2 separate regions of the Homo sapiens genome follow, and region 1 is linked to region 2. The links are contacts of gene promoters, found by promoter capture Hi-C in blood cells and fetal thymus (Javierre and others, 2016). All regions are on one chromosome and are shown on one strand. The core of a region is centred on a gene start or on the middle of the fragment in contact, and the rest is flanking DNA. Distances in the headings are between cores, read along the strand shown. Region 1 holds the start of SRP72 (signal recognition particle 72). Region 2 holds the start of TMEM165 (transmembrane protein 165).

What was found. The method cuts DNA at HindIII sites, captures the fragments that hold promoters and counts their contacts. A CHiCAGO score of 5 or more calls a contact.
Region 1: a contact is called between the fragment with the promoter of SRP72 here and the fragment with the promoter of TMEM165 in region 2, in 1 of 17 cell types (activated CD4 T cells). The highest score is 5.2, in activated CD4 T cells.

The regions. Positions count from the first base shown.
Region 1 is chr4:56,465,013-56,470,494 of GRCh38, forward strand. It overlaps SRP72 (signal recognition particle 72), which reads left to right and starts at 2,605. Exons shown (of 19, transcript NM_006947.4): 1 at 2,605-2,732; 2 at 4,641-4,761. The coding sequence starts at 2,624. LOC124900706 (a long non-coding RNA gene) reads right to left here and starts at 2,546. Exons shown (of 2, transcript XR_007058126.1): 1 at 2,080-2,546. RefSeq lists an enhancer at 2,450-2,659. The HindIII fragment of the contact is 5,513 bases long and covers 1-4,227 here.
Region 2 is chr4:55,392,991-55,397,814 of GRCh38, forward strand. TMEM165 (transmembrane protein 165) reads left to right here and starts at 2,967. Exons shown (of 6, transcript NM_018475.5): 1 at 2,967-3,406. The coding sequence starts at 3,200. RefSeq lists silencers at 2,773-2,972, 3,173-3,642. The HindIII fragment of the contact is 4,477 bases long and covers 1,505-4,824 here.

The sequences.
Region 1 (5,482 bases), core at 1,355-3,854, 1.1 Mb after region 2:
AACACCACTATGGTTTGGAAGATTCCTGTTTCAAAAATGGCAGGTTAAGCCCCATATTTATAGGCTGTTTGCCACAAAACTCCATTAAAATGACATAAGAAATAGAAACAAGTCCACAGCAGCAGAATTCTGAGCATTTCTAAAAGCTACAAAGTATATAGGATTAGAATGATATAGAAACGAAAATTGCCAATTCTTATATAAAGTCAATGTTCTAAAAAGTACTACTAGGACAGTGGCTCTTAACTTTTGGGAGGGGATGGTGGATATAAACACCTTTGGAGAATACAGTGGAATCTACATTTTCTCAGAATAACAAAATACAACAAAATTTTGGGTATACCCAATTTTCTCACACAACATTTTGGGTATACCATGTCATCTGGAGCCCCCACCCCCTGAAATCTAAACATAACTGGCTTGAAACCTGTGACAATTCTAGTCAGTAAAAGTCTAAAGCTCTTCTCATGATTTTTACTAATTCACAAGAATTACACCCTCCAGCACCTAGAGTTCAAGCCACCTTTCATGCTCTTTGCATTGTATATACTGGAAGGACCAGACAAAAATATGGCAGGGCACCATATGCCATATCAGGAGCTGGGCAGTTTCTGCCCTCAAGGAACTCAAGATTAGGCAAGGAATGTGAAACAAAAAATGCCAACTATGTGCCAGGCAGTATGCTAGATCCTAGGGATACTGCAGTGAGCAAGGTAAATATGGTTCCTTGGCCTCAGAACTATAGTCCATACAGAGTGAGATAACCCTTAATTATCAGTGCTCAGAAGTGGAGTCCTATAGGGAGTCTCCCAACCTTTTTGGCACCAGGGACCGGTTTCAGGGAAGACAATCTTTCCACAGGAGTTGGACAGCTGGTTTCAGTATGATTCAAGCTCATTACATTTCCCATTAGATTCTCTTAAGGAGTGAGCAACCTAGATCCTTCACATTCCCAGTTCACAATAGGGTTTGAGCTGTGAGAAGCTAATATCACAGCTGATCTGACAGGAGCTCAGGCGGTACTGCTCACTGGCCCACCGATCACCTACTGCTGTGCCGCCCGGTTCCTAACAGGCTGCAGACCAGTACAAGGGTTGGGGACCCCTGTTCTAAGAGGATGCAACCAGAAGGCTGCCCAGTCTGCAAGATCAAATGTTTCCTCAAAGTAACTTTCAACGTATAACCAGAAAGACTGAAAGACAAAAAGTAGTTAGCAAGGCCGGGCACGGTGGCTTACGCCTGTAATCCCTGTACTTTGGGAGGCTGAGAGAGGGCGGATCACTTGAGGTCAGGAGTTTGAGACCAGCTTGGCCAACACAGTGAAACCCCATCTCTACTAAAAATTCAAAAATTAACCGGGCGTGGTGGCTCATGCTACTTGGGAGGCTGAGGCAAAAGAATCGCTTTAACCCAGGAGGTGGAGATTGCAGTGAGGTTCATCCTGGGTCACAGAGCTAGACTACGTCTCAAAAAAAAAAAAAAAAAAAAAAAAAAAAAGCTAGGTTCCTGAGGGACACAGGAAGTAGTAGAAGTTGTAAAGGTCATGACGAGATATGAGTCTGAAGAGCAGGCCATTCAATGAAATACAACATTCACATCAAGTGAATCACTCACATCGTCTTGGTGTGGTGGCTCATGCCTGTAATCCCAGCACTTGGGGAGGCTGTGGTGGGAGGATTGCTTGAGCCCAGGAGTTCCAGACCAGCTTGGGCAACACGGCAAGATCCCCGTCTCAAAAAAAAAAAAAAATCACTCACATCAAGTGTACCCAACAGATATCCATTCCCTTCGTACATCTGAACACATCTTGATATTAACGGTCGCAAGCAAACCCTAATATTTTATATCTCTAGAACAAATATAGTATCCCCATTTCACAATCGGGAAAACAGACTCCCAGAAGCTAAGTAACTTGTTTATTGTCAGACATCTAGTGAGTCGCAGAGCCAGGGAACTGACCACGGGCATTTTCACCCCATTACCCTTCCAGCTTATTGCCGACTGCTCCCGAAGGGAGCGAAAAGGACAGGCAAAGGGTTTCACCAAACCCTTTGTAATGGGAGATTCTTGCCTTCTTACCTTTCCTCACGTTTGCTTCTCTGCCAGAATGTCTTCCCGCACTTTCCCCAGAACCCAAGTTCTCCTAATCATCTTTCAAGATCCCTTTCCCTCAACCACAGATGAGCCGTGCCTATTTCTCCTTCAAATGACTCCCTATGGCTTCTAGTTGGTAGTCTTTTATTTACCACCTCATAGTCCTTTTATTTATATCCCATAAATGATCGTCCGGCCCCGCACCGTGGGACCAGGACGCTGCCTCGACCATGGCGGTCTCCTGGAAACAGGCTGCTTTGAGCCGAAACTGGTGACCGTTTCCCAACCCCGTCCAGGAGTCCGACGCCTCTTTTCTCCAGGCCAACTTCAAGTGAGGTGTATCAACTCTATCCGCACAAATTTCTTGCCACGAGAGCAGAAGATTATGATCTCTGATGCTGCCTTAGGGCTGAAGACACTCCCAACTCGGCGACGCTTAGCAATCATCGACTTCCTCCTCCTCTTGGCTGCCTCGGAGATCCTGTTCCGGGGCAGAGGTCTCCCCGCCCCGCCCCTCGTCTCCTCCAAGATGGCGAGCGGCGGCAGCGGGGGGGTGTCAGTACCTGCGCTGTGGAGTGAAGTGAACCGGTATGGCCAGAACGGCGACTTCACGCGCGCTCTCAAGACCGTCAATAAGAGTAAGTGTCGGGGTGGGCACTGGGGCGGGCCCAGGCCGGCTGGAGGATGCGGCCTGTTTCCGGCGCGCGAGACCACCTCGCGCGGGAGGCACGGGAAGGGGAGACCCCCGAAACCCCCCCGTCTATTGTCCGCCCGGCTCGGGCCCTAGCGCCCGGAAGACGCAGGTCTCACTCCTCGGCTTCACCAGGCCAGCCTGGGGTCCCTGGTTGCTTACAGCCACGTGTACTTCTCTTTTTACCCTCCGCGGGAAGCGAGGGAAGGTTTTAAAGAGACCGCAGCTCCCGGAGTCCATTTCAAACTGTTTTCTTATTTGACTCCTTTGCTGCTTTATTTCACAAATATTCCAAAGTGCCTCCTTTTCTTCTTCGTCTTGAGCGCAGTGATCAGGACTCTATTGCTGAGGGAGCTTGTTCTCTTTGGCCGCTAAAGGGGGAGGAACCTGCTTGGGACACGTAGTTTAGAGGCTGGTGCTAACCAGGTGGAAGCTGTACGGGTTCTACGGGGCGAGAGGAAAGGGCTGGATCTGGATGTCAGGCCTGTCATTCCCATAGATGAGATCTCTTCAGTGTTATTAAGTTAGGAAATATGTGTGTGGAAGCACCAACACTTGAAATAATGTCGGAAGAAAAGTTTGGCCTGTTTTTTTGCCCTGTAAGGGATGATTTCGGTTTTTACCGCCTTTGGTGTGAGGTTTAATTCATCATATTCTTTTGTTCCTTACTACATACCTGGAATATGGCCATGCTGCTTAATGTTCTCGGTGGTGCGCAGTTCTTCTCTACTGAAGATACAGCCTGTGCATGTTAGATTTGGAAATGTAATTACCAAGGCAGGGCTTAGCTGTTCAGAGTAGCAGTAACCTAAAAGGTGTGTCAGTAACATGCAAAGCTATCTAAGTAATTTTCAACACTCTAGTACTGGGTTAACGTGAAAAGTAGTGATTGTGCCCACAGTGCACTTTTGGTGATTTCAGACATTGAGGAAAATAGCTACGAATTAGAATTATTTGATCCCTAAATTTGTTTGAATTAACTCTAGCCTTCCAACCAGTACTGTATACTTAGTATAGTATTTTGCAGGAATTCTTTAATCAGCAAAGATTGTCAACTTGTTTACCAGTATGTTTTCTTAATTGGTAGAAATTCTTGTGATTCTTTGAGAATTGGACTTCTGTAGTTGCACAGGAGCAAGAGTAACTATGATCCTGGTCATTTTAACACCGAACAGTTGTTAGCGTTGAAACTTGCCACCTGAGTTCTTCCTTATACTTTGGTCATCTTAGTTGAAAAGGGGAAATTTTAATGATTTTTGGAAACGTTGCCAGCAAGATAAATTGCCTTTGTATTATACTTTATAAGATTTTTCCAAAATATTCATTTCATATTGTCAGTAACCTTATTAAATAGGTAATGCTTTTCTAATCATTTTGTAGCTAAGAAAACTGAGATTTGGCTGTTAAGTGATATGCCCAATACCTCAAAGCATTTAGTGGCAAGCTTGCACCAAACCTAGGTCATTTGCTTCCAAATTCTACCTGAACTTTTTCCCTGTGAAGTAATGAACTATGTAGAATGTAGCATGCATTTCAAGATGAAATATCTGGAGAAATTGCTTCTTTCTTCTTTATTTCACTGCACTTTTTTGGTACATGTATATTGGGAATCTTTATCTCATTGAAAATTTAATCTATAACTCTCCTTATTGTCACTTCTTAAGTTAAAAGCAAAGATTAGTTGTTTTCTGGGTTTGTTTTGTTTTGTTGCTGTTTCTTCCAGTTGTTCTGACCAATTATTTCTGTTGCAATAAAAGTAGAAATTTAGCTTTCGGAGAGACAGGGTGGGAAAATTTAGTAAAAATGTGAAAAGGAAATGGATTTAAAAATGACTTTTCCTAAAATTGTTCTCTAGTACTACAGATCAACAAAGATGACGTAACTGCCCTGCATTGTAAAGTGGTATGCCTTATCCAGAATGGAAGTTTCAAGGAAGCTTTGAATGTCATCAATACTCACACCAAAGTGTTAGCCAAGTAAGTGATTCAGTTAGTTGCTTGTACAGTTATTAGAAACACTTACTATAGCTATAATCTCTTCCATGTTTTTTCCCAACTATTTGCTGATTTTTTTTAACGTTTTTTTCCTTCCTTTTTTTCCCCCCTTTTGCTTGTCAATAATGTTTCTGAACTGGAAGGAATACTAGTAACTTCTGTTTTTTTCAGCCTTAGAGAGTTTTTTTTTTTTTTTTTAACCACTGTGTTTCCTTTGAACCGCTAAGGAGGTGAACCATAGAGAGTTGTGGGGCATAATTATGAGTCGTTGGAGGATGTAGCAAGAATAACTCAGTCGAAGTTTCTTTACTGTTATACCTAGGCTCCAAAAAAATATGTATTGAAATTAAGTTTGAAGCATATTAATGGGATACTGGTTTATAAGGTGCAGAACAATATATATTATACTTCCTTTTACAAGAGGAGGAGGATATAAAAATTTATATATGCATTTGCCTGTATTTGCAAAACAAACAGTATAAAGAGAAACAATGAATAGTCATTTGTGGGAGGCCTAAGAGGGCGGATCACGAGGTCAGGGGTTTGAGACCAGACCGAGCAATATGGTGAAACCCCATGTCTACTGAAGATACAAAAAATTAGCTGGGTATGGTGGTGTGCACCTGTATTCCCAGTTACTTGGGAGGCTGAGGCAGGAGAATCACTTGAACCCAGGAGGCAGAGGCTGCAGTGAGCTGAGATC
Region 2 (4,824 bases), core at 1,717-4,216:
TAAATAAATTAATTAAATAAAATACAATGTAATGCACATGTAGTAGGGTTTCTTTCCATAGGATGCCTGACAGTGGTTACATTTTAGTAAGACTATATCGGTGTAGGCTATGATTAAAAAATATATCATCTTGGAATTGTTGCGCCACCCACATCCTTATTGGGTAGGGGGTTAAATAAGTAGCTTCAGTTGTCCTTCAAGAAAGGTATCAGGAAAGCTCCTATAGTTTTTTAATTGCTTTTTTTAAGGGAGTTAGTCACCAATGAGGACTAGAAGGATGATGGCTCTAAACCCTCAAGGTGGTGAAAACTGGAGCCAGCCTCGATTTAGCACGCCTGAGCACGGATCCCAGGAGGTAGATGTGTGTGGAAACAGAAATACCAGATCCCATGAGAATCAGACACCTAGAGCCTAGCCTGGCAGCACCTGAAGGCCCTTGGATCAGGGTGACACTGGGGCAGGCTAGAAAGGTCTCACTCTGGCCCAGATTCTGATGCTTTGCTGACACCACTGTGCCAGTTCGCCAATGCTCTATCTCCATTTATGTTACATCTTCTGCCAAATAGCTTTGCTGCCTTGCCCCTGAACCACTGCATGCTCAGCAGCTGGTGCTTCAGCATCCTGCAGCTGTAGCCCAGAAGTCCTCACTGCCTCATATGTTGAGATGACTGAATTTGGCCAGGAGTCCTTCCTGTGAGAAAGCCCTGGAGTGTGGGCAGCCCATCCTAGAAAATAAACAAAGCAGCTTTCAGCAATGAGGGACACACAGCCAGTTTTGCTACATTCACCCTTCTGGCTCTGTCTTCAGCCTAAGCTGCTCCTTTCAGGTCCCTCCCTTGGGACCTCAAGCCTCCCTTTCAGGCCCCTTTTAAGCACAGCAAATCCTGTATGCATTAAGGGGAGGTAGTTGAAGTTTGGGCTTCTGGGTTTTATGTTATTACTGGCTTCTGAAAGCTCAAACATTTGCACTCCAGGGATGATAGTTGCATCTGTTAAATTTAGTGTAAAGCTGCCTCCTTACATATTTTAAGTTAGGCCTAAAGGTTTCCCCATACATGGTGAACTGTAGCCTAATTGGGTATGTAAACAGACTGTAACCTATTCTTGTACCAATCACAGAGTTCTGGCCAATCACAAGTGGCCAACTGTTCAAACCGTGTTCAAATAGGGCAAACCTGAGCTACAACCAATCCAGCTGTTTCTGTCCCTCAATTATGTTTTCTGTAAGTCACTTTATTTTTTCCGACCACTCGGCAAGACTGGAGCCTCTCTGAACTTACTTTGATTTGGGGTCTTTTTGATTTGCAGATCATTCTTTGGGTTCTTTGCTTGATTAAACGCTGTTAAGTTTAATTTGTCTAAGGTTTTTCTTTTAACACACCCCAAACTGTAAGTGGAGGCATCCTACTTACACAGTAATAGAAGAATGCATAAAGCAATAACATGAAGGAACAAGTGACAAATTCTGTAACGCCATGTGTTGGGGAAAAGTTCTGAGAGTGGAAGCTTGAATAGGTTTTGGAAGTATGAGTAGGAGTTTACAAGGAGAGAATGGAAGAAGGGGAATTACGGACAGAATAACATGGACGGAGGCCGGCCGCGGTGGCTCACACCTGTAATCCCAGCACTTTGAGAGGACGAGGCCGGCAGATCACCTGAGGTCTGGAGTTCGAGACCAGCCTGACCAACATGGAGAAACCCCATCTCTACTAAAATTACAAAGTTAGCCGCGTATGGTGGAGCATGCCTGTAATCCCAGCTACTCGGGAAGCTGAGGCAGGAGAATCTCTTGTACCCGGGAGGAGGAGGTTGCAGTGGGCCGAGATCTCACCATTGCACTCCATCCTGAGCAACAAGCGCGAAACTCCGTCTCAAAAACAAAAACAAAGAAAACAACAAAACAAAAAAACAGACGGAAATTTTATTATCCTGTGACAAACACTGTATCTTTGGTGAACTCAAAGTAGGTTTGCCCACTTTCCCACAGATTGTTTTGGTGGATTAATTTTTTGTTTCAGTTAGTGATAAACTTCCTTAGCTCTTTACTGAGTACAGGTTTACTGTATGTAAATATGTATAATATTAGATTAGTGCCTGGCACATGGTTAGCACTATCGATTTTTATTAGGGACTAGGTCTCAAACTTATGGTAATTAAGTAGCTCACTTTTTCTTTTGGGAAGACGTAAAAATATTCTCAAGCCTAACTCAAGACCATCCTTTCCTGTCTTCTAGTCTTGCCCACTCAAAGCTCCATCCTGCAAAAGTCTTAAACAGTCCATTTCAAAAGCCCAGCATTTTTAAAGGGTCTAAGGAATAGCACAAAACAAGATGCACCCAAAACGTCAAGGCCATACTGGACAAGGGCAACGTTAGCCATTTTTGGTCTGGGGTAATTATAGGCAGTATCTTAAAACAAGGCTTGAAAAATGTCATGTTATTTCCAAATCCCATTTCAGAACTTTAAAAAAAAAATAGCATTTTGAGCTCCTAAGAACGTTTTTGGCGGTAGGTGGCCACATGGAGGGTGGCACAGAGGCTCGGCGGGGGAGAGCGGAACAGAGCTGGGCGTGGCAGTGCCTGCGAGTCAGCGCCACGTAACCAGAGGCGCTCGCACTAATTTGACCTCTAAGAGAGACTAAGCGCAGGGAACAGCGGGTGCGGACATTACGGCGGAAGGCTCTGGAGGAAGCAGAAGTGAAGGACCTCGCAGTCCTGGGACGGTGGGGCACAGAGAGAGAAAGGGAGCCCCGGGCGCGGCGCGGTGAGGATGCGAGCAGAGGAAGGACACGCGGCGCCGGGTACCTGCCGGGAGCGCCGGATCCAATGGGAGGAGGGCCCGCGCCGCACCTCAACCTGGCAGAGGACGTCACGACGCCAAGGCGGTCGCCGGGCCAATGGGAGGCCGTCGCGGGCAGGGACGGGGCCGGGAGGAGTCGGGGCTGGGCCGCGCCGAGGCAGCTGGCTGACTCCAGTTTAGCCGCCGCCGGAGAGGACGGGCGCCGAGCCGGGGCTGCGGACTTCGGCCTGCCCCTCACCTCACTCCCGCTGCTTGCACCTCCCGGATGGTGCTGACTGCTCCCTAAGCGGCGGCGGCGGCGAGTCGTGAGGACGCGCCGCGGAGGCTGTTCGGGGTCGAGGCTTCCCGTCGCCGGCACTTCCTCTTGCGGCGCCCGTGCGCGGCCGGCCCGGCAGGCGGGATGGCGGCCGCGGCTCCAGGGAACGGCCGCGCATCGGCGCCCCGGCTGCTTCTGCTCTTTCTGGTTCCGCTGCTGTGGGCCCCGGCTGCGGTCCGGGCCGGCCCAGATGAAGACCTTAGCCACCGGAACAAAGAACCGCCGGCGCCGGCCCAGCAGCTGCAGCCGCAGCCTGTGGCTGTGCAGGGCCCCGAGCCGGCCCGGGTCGAGGTGAGCGGGCCGGGATGGGGCGAGCGAGGCTGCAGGGCCGGCTGCGCCGAGTACCAGGCTCCAGGCCTTTGAAAGCGCCGCACTCCGCCGGCCTCGGCTGGGGGAGGGGAGCCCGGCCCCTGCTCCCGGGGTGGAGGGCGGTCGGCTGCGCTGTTTTCCGGTGAGGCCTGGTCTTGCCCGCTCCTTTAGGGAAAGGGAGAGGGAGAGTCCAAGAGGAGCCCGCTATAAACGTTGATCTCCGGAGGGCCAAGATGCTGCTCCGGGATGGGCGTTTTATTGATCAGATGTGTCTTAGAGTAGCTAGAAAGACTCATCCCTACCAAAAAGTTTTTAACAGAAGGCTGCTAGGAGGCTTTTTGTATTCCCTGAGGATCATCACATCGGCCATTTCATTGTTGAAATAGCTTATGCCAAACTGCTTACCCAAATTCAACTTGGCACTGCCTGTGCTTTTTGCCAAATATGGATTATGAACCATGACTCTCACTTTTTAAAAATGTGCTTTGGCTAGCAGGAAGTAGCCTTTAGGAACGCAGAGGAATTAGTCTCCGGCAGTACAGCGTGCTGCAGCGATGTGGGATGCCAAAACTACATTTATAAGTAAAACAGAATCCTGTATTTTGTCCTTCCCTGAATAGATACTAGAAATCAACTTTTTAATCTGTTAATAGAATTAGTCCTTAGTCACTTGGCAGCGTTTTAACATTTCTCCCTTCTCCCAGTCGTGGGCTTTGTCGTCATTTCCAGTATCTGCTCCCTGAATCCCGGCCAGTGTGGCACTCAAACCCCCACTCCCACCCAGGCCACATCCAGCCCATCTCCACGTAACTAATCTTCCCGAACATTGAATTCTGCCATCTTGTCAGAAGTCGTCGGTGAGTTGCCTCCACTAATTTCAGTCCAGCCTTTTTAGGAGAGTGATGTTCAGGTTTCTTCTGATCTGGCTCCAGCTCACCTCCAGGCTTTTTAGCCACCGCTTTCTTGCTCATATGCTAAAGGGATATGCTCATCTGCAAAAAAGAATGTGCTTCAAGAGCCCTTTGGGACAGGCTTTGTGCTCTCTTGCCAGTTCCTCCCTAACACAAGACCTTTTCAAAGAAAAAAAAAAAAAGACCTGGAGTTTGAAGCCACGGATCAACTCTTCCCACCTTGGAGAACCAGCAGATACCTACTCTCTGTGAAGACTTCCCTAAAATTTCTTGGTTAAGGGTGATTTATCTGACCCTTTCCTTTCCTTTCCTTTCCTCTCCTTTCTCCTTTTTCCTTTCCTCTCCTTTCTCCTTTTTCCTTTCCATTCCTTTCATTTCTCCTTTCCTTTCCTTTTTCCTTTCCTTTCTCCCTTCCTTTCCTTTTTCCTTTTTCTTTGTTGAGACAGGGTCTCGCTCTGTCGCCCAGGCTGGAGTGCAGTGGCCCCGTCT